Linked DNA regions of Homo sapiens: region 1 is linked to region 2. The links are contacts of gene promoters, found by promoter capture Hi-C in blood cells and fetal thymus (Javierre and others, 2016). All regions are on one chromosome and are shown on one strand. Each heading gives the region's core, a stretch centred on a gene start or on the middle of the fragment in contact. The rest is flanking DNA. Distances are from core to core; before and after follow the strand shown. Region 1 has its middle 200 kb from the start of FOXK1. Region 2 holds the start of SDK1 (sidekick cell adhesion molecule 1).

What was found. The method cuts DNA at HindIII sites, captures the fragments that hold promoters and counts their contacts. A CHiCAGO score of 5 or more calls a contact.
Region 1: a fragment that was not itself captured here is called in contact with the fragment with the promoter of SDK1 in region 2 in 3 of 17 cell types (endothelial precursors, M2 macrophages and M1 macrophages); the score reaches 8.7 in endothelial precursors.

The regions. Positions count from the first base shown.
Region 1 is chr7:4,480,603-4,484,477 of GRCh38, forward strand. No RefSeq gene overlaps it. Among named protein-coding and RNA genes, the nearest start is that of FOXK1, 200 kb to the right of the region's middle. The HindIII fragment of the contact is 1,259 bases long and covers 1,897-3,155 here.
Region 2 is chr7:3,299,153-3,303,269 of GRCh38, forward strand. It overlaps SDK1 (sidekick cell adhesion molecule 1), which reads left to right and starts at 2,100. Exons shown (of 45, transcript NM_152744.4): 1 at 2,100-2,732. The coding sequence starts at 2,435. SDK1-AS1 (SDK1 antisense RNA 1) reads right to left here. Exons shown (of 3, transcript XR_001744897.3): 1 at 3,077-4,117. RefSeq lists enhancers at 667-1,179, 1,180-1,691, 2,401-2,901 and a silencer at 1,577-2,126. The HindIII fragment of the contact is 8,975 bases long and covers 1-4,117 here.

The sequences.
Region 1 (3,875 bases), core at 1,276-3,775, 1.2 Mb after region 2:
AAAAGAAAAAGAAAAGGAAAAGAAAACAATAGCCAGCCCCAGTGTGTGTTGTTTCCATCTTTGTGTCCATGTATCCTCATCATTCAGGTCCCGCTTGTAAGTAAGAACATGTAGTATTTGATTTTCTGTTCCCACGTTAGTTTGCTAAGGATAACGGCCTCCAACTCCACCCATGTCCCTGCAAAGGACATGATCTCATTCTTTTTTTATGGCTACATAGTATTCTATGTTGTGTATATGTACCACATTTTCCTTATCCGGTCTATTATTAATGGGCATTTAGGTTGATTCCATGTCCTGGCTATTGTGAATAGTGCTGCAGTGAACATATGCGTGACATCATCTAGACTTCATCAGACCCACTCTCTGATCCCCTCTCCACCAGGAGTTCCTTTGCCCTCTCCTTTCTGGGAAGTGGCCCCATCCCATAGCCTCTGAAAGTTGCACACTGTGAAGGAGTTCTGTGTGTCTTTATGGTATGATTTATATTCCTTTGGGTATATACACGAGTTCACTTGTGGATATGGTTTGGCTGTGTCCCCATCCAAATCTCATCTTGAATTGTAGCTCCCATAATTCCCACGTGTTGTGGGAGGGACCCAGTGGGAGATAACTGAATCATGAGGGCGGTTTCTCCCATTCTGTTCTCATGGTAGTGAGTAAGTCTCACAACATATGATGATTTTATAAGGGGTCTCCCCTTTTGCTTGACTCTCTTTCTCTCTTGTCTGCCACCATGTAAGACGTGCCTTTCACCTCCCACCATGATTGTGAGGCCTCCCTAGCTACGTGGAACTGTGAGCCCATTAAACCTCTTTTTCTTTATAAAATACTCATTCTTACATGCACATGTATGTTTATTGCAGCACTATTTACAATAGCAAAGACTTGGAACCAGCCCAAATGTCCATCGATGATAGACTAAAGAAAATGTGGCACATATACACCATGGAATACTATGCAGCCATAAAAAAGAATGAGCTCATATCCTTTGCAGGGACATGGATGAAGCTGGAAACCATCATTCTCAGCAAACTAATGCAGGAACAGAAAACCAAACACGGCTTGTTCTCACTCATAAGTGGGAGTTGAACAATGAGAACACATGGACACAGGGAGGGGAACATCACACACTGGGACCTGTTGGGGGGTGGGGGACAAGAGGAGGGAGAGCGTTAGGACAAATCCCTAATGCATGTGGGGCTTAAAACCTAGATGATAGGCTGATAGGTGCAGCACACCACCATGACACATGTATACTTACGTAACAAACCTGCATGTTCTGCACATGTATCCCAGAACTTAAAGTAAAATAAATAAATAATTGCCCAGTCTCGGGTACATCTTTTTTTTTTTTTTTTTTTTTTTTTCCAGACGGAGTCTCACTTAGTCGCCAGGCTGGAATGCAGTGGCGTGATCTCGGCTCACTGCAACCTCCGCCTCCCGGGTTCAAGCGATTCTCCTGCCTCAGCCTCCCAAGCAGCTGGGACTACAGGTGCCCACCACCATGCCCAGCTAGTTTTTGTATTTTTAGTAGAGATGGGGTTTCACCATGTTAGCCAGGCTGGTCTCGATCTCTTGACCTTGTGATCCACTCGCCTGGGCCTCCCAAAGTGCTGGGATTACAGGCATGAGCCACCGTGCCCGGCCCCCAGTCTTGGGTGTGTCTTTATCAGCAGCATGAAAATGGATGAATACACCTATACAGCAAACCTATACAAGTACCCCTGCACTGAAAATAAAAGGTTTTTTAAAAAAAGAAAAGAAAGGCCTTAGTTCTTAAGCAATGACTAAAATGTGGGGAAACTCAGGTGGAATTCTGCAATGACACTGAAGTATCACGGTTCAATTTTAGACACAAAAAGCCAGGCAGGCAAAGACACCCACCATGAGCCAAGCTTTGCTGGGTTTGGGGAGGGAAGGGGACAATTGCTGTAATCTTGAGACTGAACAGTGCTGGAGGGAGGATTCAGGACAGCTTGGTAAGGGGCTTAAAAGATATTGACATGTACCCCAAATTGTATTTAATGGCATTTTGCTAAGTAATCTGGTTTCTGGTTTTAGATTCGGATTTTAGTTAGAAAGAGCTTATGCTGGGACACTGGACTGGACAGAAGAGCCACTTTCCTGCCTCACAGGGGCACAGTTTCTTTCTAGAATTCTCTTTGCAGAGCGGCTGTCCAAGATTAAATTGAAGCAGATGGGCCAGGCACGGTGCCTCACGCCTGGAATCCCAGCATTTTGGGAGTTTGAGGCAAGAGGATTGCTTGAGTCCAAGGTTCAAGACCAGCTTGGGCAACACAGTGAGATTCCTGTCTCTATTTCCTTTTTTTTTTTTTTTTAAGATGGAGTCTCACTCTGTGCCCCAGGCTGGAGTGCAATGGTGTGATCTTGGCTCACTGCAGCCTCTGCCTCCCAGGTTCAAGCAATTCTCCTGCCTCAGCCTCCCAAGCTGGAATTATAGGCGCCGGCCACCGCACCCAGCTATTTTTTTTTTTTTTTTTTGTATTTTTAGTAGACACGGGGTTTCACCATGTTGGCCAGGCTGGTCTCAAACTCCTGCCTTCAGGTGATCCACCCGCCTCGGCCTCCCAAAGTGCTGAGATTACAGGTGTGAGCCACTGCACCTGGCCTCCCTGTCTCTGTTTCTAAAAGAAATATATATATACTAATAATAAATAAATAAATAAATAAGAGGACAGACTTCTCTCTCCATTGCTTAAAAATCTCCTTATATAGCTGGAAAGTAGCAAATTGTAGGAAAGCAAGAGGAAAAGTCCTAGGGGAAGGAAGCCCAGCAATTCCTAAGACGTGTGATGTGTCCTAACCCCCAGCTGGTTGACTTATGTGCCTGAGGAGTCTGAGGACATGGCTACCTGGATCTCTGGGCATGAGTGCCAGTCCCTGGGACACCTCTCAGAGCCCAGCTGTCTGGAAAGGCCACCTGTGGGCATCTAATCCACAGCCCACCTGAGCCCTCCATGTGCACCACCTTGGACATCCAGCCCCATGCAGCCTGGAGATGCTGTAGCCCCAGCACTCTGGGCTGGTGACCCCATGAGAGGCCCTGCACAAGAACCGCCCCACCAAACCCTTCCCAAATTCCTTACCCATGAAATCATAAGCAAAACAAAAATGGTCGTTGTGAGCTGCTAAGCTTAGGGTTGATTTGTTGGGTAGCAGTAGCAATCTGGAACAACTGCCCAGAAGAGATATGCATCTGCCTCTGCTAAGGGAACTGCCGGGGAAGAGCCCCCAGTAGGGAGTCTGTATAGAGTTGCAGAAGGTGGAGAGAAAGGGAGAAAGAGAGAAAGAGGAGAGGGAGGGAAAGAGAGAGAAGAGGGAAAGACAAGAGAGAGGGGGAGAGATGTTACCAAAACACCAGGGGTTTGGTCTAGGCCCTGCTGCTCACTGCACAGAAAGCCAATCACTGAGACAATGAGTGTTGCTGAGGGAGAAGGCTTTAATCGGGTGCAGCAGCTGAGATGGGAGCTCAGTCTCAAATCCATCTTCTTGACCCACTAAAGGCCTTTCTTTAGCAGGGAAGAAATGTAACTATGTGTAAGAAAACAGGAACTCAGATAAAACAAAGCCAAGTTTCAAGCTTTAAGAACTTGATCAGATGGGTCAACTTCTATGTTTATCCAAAAAACAAAAAAACTTGTCTATGGGACTACTAGGTTGGTTTCAGAGACAGAAGTAGAGGGAGAGAGAGAAGAGGGAGAGAAGGCAGGGAGAGAGAATGGGAAGGGGGAGAGAGAAAAGGGGGAGGTAGGAGAGGAGAGAGAGAAAGGGGGGAGACAGGAGGGGAGAGAGACAAGAGAGAGAAAGAGAGCAGGGAGAAATAAGAAAAAGAGCAGGGAATGATAAGAGAG
Region 2 (4,117 bases), core at 850-3,349:
CAGCAAAGCAGAGGTGGTTGGGGTGAAGAGGAAGGGAGGTGAGCTCCCGACCTTGGGCAAAACACTTCACTTCCTTTATTTATTTATTTATTTATTTATTTATTTATTTATTTATTTATTTATTGAGACAGAGTCTCACTCAGTCGCCCAGGCTGGAGTGCAGTAGCAAGGTATCGGCTCACTGCAACCTCCACCTCCCAGGTTCAAGCAATTCTCCTGCCTCAGCCTCCCGAGTAGCTTGGACTACAAGCGCACGCCACTACGCCTGGCTAATCATCTTCTTCTTCTGTCTTTCTTCTTCATTTTCTTCTTTCTTTTTTCTTTTCTTTTTTTTTTTTTTAACTGCAGACGAGGTTTCACCATGTTGGCCAGGCTGGTCTTGAACTGACCTCAAGTGATCCGCCCGCCTCGGCCTCCCAAAGTGCTGGGATTACAGGTGTGAGCTACCGCGCCCGGCCCACTTCTTTATGCCTCAGTTTCTCCATCTGTACCAGGGCCAGCACCTCTCACACAGCAGGTAGTGAAGCTGCTGCTGCTGCTGCCCTGGGCTGGCCTACAGTGAGTGCTCACTGCACAGGAGGTATTGCTTCCCCCCGCCCAGCAGGTTCTCATTATAATCTTGCAAGTTTGAAGAAACCCAGCCTTGCTACCAACAGAAGATAAAAACAGACATGCCTCTCTGCCTCCAGTCTCATCCCCATGTCCTTGGGGAGCTGTCCTCTTCCGGCTCGTCCCATCTATGCGCCCTCACTATATCCTCAGAACAGGGCACTCCGTGGCTCCTTTAACTTTTTTGCCCCTCCTAGCATGGTGTGGAAAGGGGGCAGATGGGAGGCCTCTTTCTGAAACCACCTCCTGTTCGGCGGCTGTACTTGGACCTCAGTTTCCCTGTTTTGTTCACGTGGTCATTGTTAAGTCTTAGGGGACGTGTACAGAGGCTAATATTGAGCCACCAATCAGTTATTTGACAAATACCATAGGCGCTCTGTGAGCAGGAGCTGGCTCCTATCCCAGACCCCAGCCCTGTGACCTGCTCTCCACTCGCCCGGGGTCTTTCTTGGCTGGGACAATAAACCTACTGCATCAGGTGATTCCTGGGGAGTCAGCCCCGTGCTGGGCTCACACCCAGCCCCTCTGCGTTCATCTCTTACATGATCTCATGCGACCATCATCACACGTCCCCAGGCTCCTCCCGGGCCAACTCCAGAGGCAGTGCGTGTCACCTCCAGCTCTCCTCCCACAAAAATGCTGGCCTTTCAGCCTCCAGTGCGCTTAGTTCACCCCATAAACTCTGCTAATGCTTACCACATGCTGAGCGTCGGCGCCCGTCCCCACCCCCAGCCCCACAGGCTCCCGGGTCCCGCCCTGGGAGACCCTCCCACTGGCCGACCCTGCCCCAAGACTCGCCCACTCCACGGTGGGAAACCTGCAATGTGTCCCTCCCTACCCCGCCCTCCTCCAGCGCCGGCCAAAAGTGACCTTGGACGCTTCTACAATGCCATATCCACTCCTCTGAACAGGAGGCGAGTTTGCACCCAGTGGTGCCTTTGGTTGCTAGAAATTAAAAACCCGATTGCGCGTGTTTGCAATTACGGTAACTTGGCGCGTCACCCCCAAGCACTGAGCTAGCTGGTGGTAGCCGGGCGCCTCTCGGGGCGCGCCCTATTCCGCCCTCGGCCCTGGGCTGCCGCACGATCTGCGCGTCCTGCTGCACCTGAGCCCTTCCCACTCGGGCGCCCGCACCGCTGCGGGGCCGGGCGAGGATGCACCACCCCCGCCCGCGAGCCCGCCACGGGAGCGCGTGCCGAATCGACGCCGCCTGCAGTCCCCACTACGGGTCCCTAGGGGGCGCAGCCGGCGCGGGAAGCCGCCCGAGCCAGGCGCCGCGGCCGGCACAAAATTGCAGGCGGGCGGGCGCCGCGACTTTGAAAACAAGCGAGGGCCTGGGGGGCGGGCCCTGGGAGCGGGCGCCGCCTCCCTCGGCCAATCAACGGCGGGCGGCGGGCGGCGGGCGCGGGCGGCGCGTGCGGCCGGGCTGTGAATGGGGAGCGGCGGCCGCGGCAGCTGAGGGCGAGCGCGACCGCGACGTGCGGGCGGGCGCACTTTCTTCTCAGCGCCGGGCGGGGGCGGCGGCGGCGGCGGCTCCTCCGCGCCCGGCGGACCCCTCGGAGCTAGCGCGGCGGGCTCGGGACTGCGTGAGCGCCGGACGCGAATTTCCCCCGTTGACAACTTCTTCTCGCCCGGCTCGTCCCCGGCCCGCGCCGCGCCCCTCACGCGGGGACCCAGGACGCCGCCCCTCAGCGCTGGGCGGCCGCTCACCTCGGGCCGGGGGGCGCCGCGCCTCCCGCGGAGTGGCCGCGCCCGCTCGGAGCCGTCCCGCCTGTCCTGCCCGCCCGTCCGTCCGGCGCGGCGCTCGGGGTGGCGGCTGCTCGGCATGGCCCGGGGCGCCCGGCCCTCGGCGGCCGGTGGCGGCGGCGGCGGCGCGGAGCCCCCTGAGCGCGCGGGCCCCGGGCGGCCGCGGGGATCCCCGCCCGGCCGCGCCCGCCCCTCGCTGGCGCCGCGCCCCGGCCCGGAGCCCTCGCGACCCCGGGCGGCGCCCGAGACCTCCGGCGGGGACACGGCGGGCGCGGGGCGGTGCGGCGGGCGGCGGGCGGCAAAGTTGGGGCCGGGCCGCCGCGGCTGGTGGGCGCTGCTGGCGCTGCAGCTGCACTTGCTCCGGGCGCTGGCGCAAGGTAGGTGCGCGCGGGGTCGCGGGCCGGGGGCGTCGCCTCGGGGCGCGGAGGCGCGAACTTGAGCAGCGAGAGTGTGTCCGGGGTCCCCCCGCTTCCCGGCCCGGGTCGGGATGCGCCTTGCTGGGGGCTCTAGGGAGCCCAGGGGCTCCTCCACGCCAGACTCGGAGGAGAGGGAAACGGAGCCCCGTAGAGCCTGCACCCCGTCTGCTACTTTGCGTTTTATTTTTTTTATACCGCAGTAGCACAAACAAAAATTTTTAAGTTGAGGACCCATTTCTCAGCTCCTTAAAAGGATGCCCGAGTCCCCTTCCCATTGCATGGATGAAAAAGGGGCTGGTCTGTACCTGAGTCTTCGCACCGCAGGGTCTGGTTTCCGGTGAGTGACATCCAGAAGACTTGGAAATATCAAGTGCCAGTCGCTGTGAAAAGCCTTTTCCAGCCCCTCCCCAGGGCCTCGTCCTCTCCCCAGCCCCCGCCTGCTCCTGACTCCCCCAAGTCCCAAAGCCCGACCCCAAGTGGGTGCTGCGCGGCCGGTGGAGCAAAACTTTCAGTGCCCACAGCTTTTGCACTTGGCTTTGTTTTTCTCCCTCTATTGGCTTCTGTTTAGAATACAGTGGTGAGCTCTGAAATAGGGAAAGAGGATCTGCTGAATGGAAATGACCTTTTGAAACGAGAGATGGGATCTCTTGTGAAACGAGCTTTCCTTCCCAAATCTGGGCTTCCCTCCACCCCCTCCCCGCCCCCGACAAAACCCGTAACGTACCCCTGCCAGCTAGCATCGTTTTCTTTTGAAGTTTGCTGGTCTTTAAACCAAAACACCCCCCTCAACCCAGAAATAACTATTTTAATACGTCCTTTGGTAACGTCTTTAAAACACATTAGTGAACTGGTTTTGCTGATGGTAGTTTTAGGAAAATTAACTTAGTTGTATTCCAAGATACAGCTAACGAACAATCATGGTAAGGAACTCGATATTCTGAGATTGGCGAAGATGAGAGCATTAAACTTAAATTAGCTGTGTTCTGTGTCCTGTGAAGATGATTTATGTGTAGTAACATGACTTAAATGTTGTAACATTTTAAAGGTCTGAGCTCAAAACTATCATCCAATAGCTTAACAACGAACTCATACTTTTTTTTATTGATGCTTATGTAACGTTATCTAAATTGTGCCCCTCCACCCCCCTCCAGCTTTCATAAATGCTCCCTCTTATGTTTTACTACATGAAAACAAATTGCCATATTTCTGGTTAATTTAACTCCTCCATTACTTGGAAAATTTTCATTTCACTTATTTGTGCTTTTTGCTTAATGACTTACTCTGGAAGAAAAGCATTTATTAAGTCATTTTGTACAGTGGGATCTGTAGATTGTTAGAGCAACCAG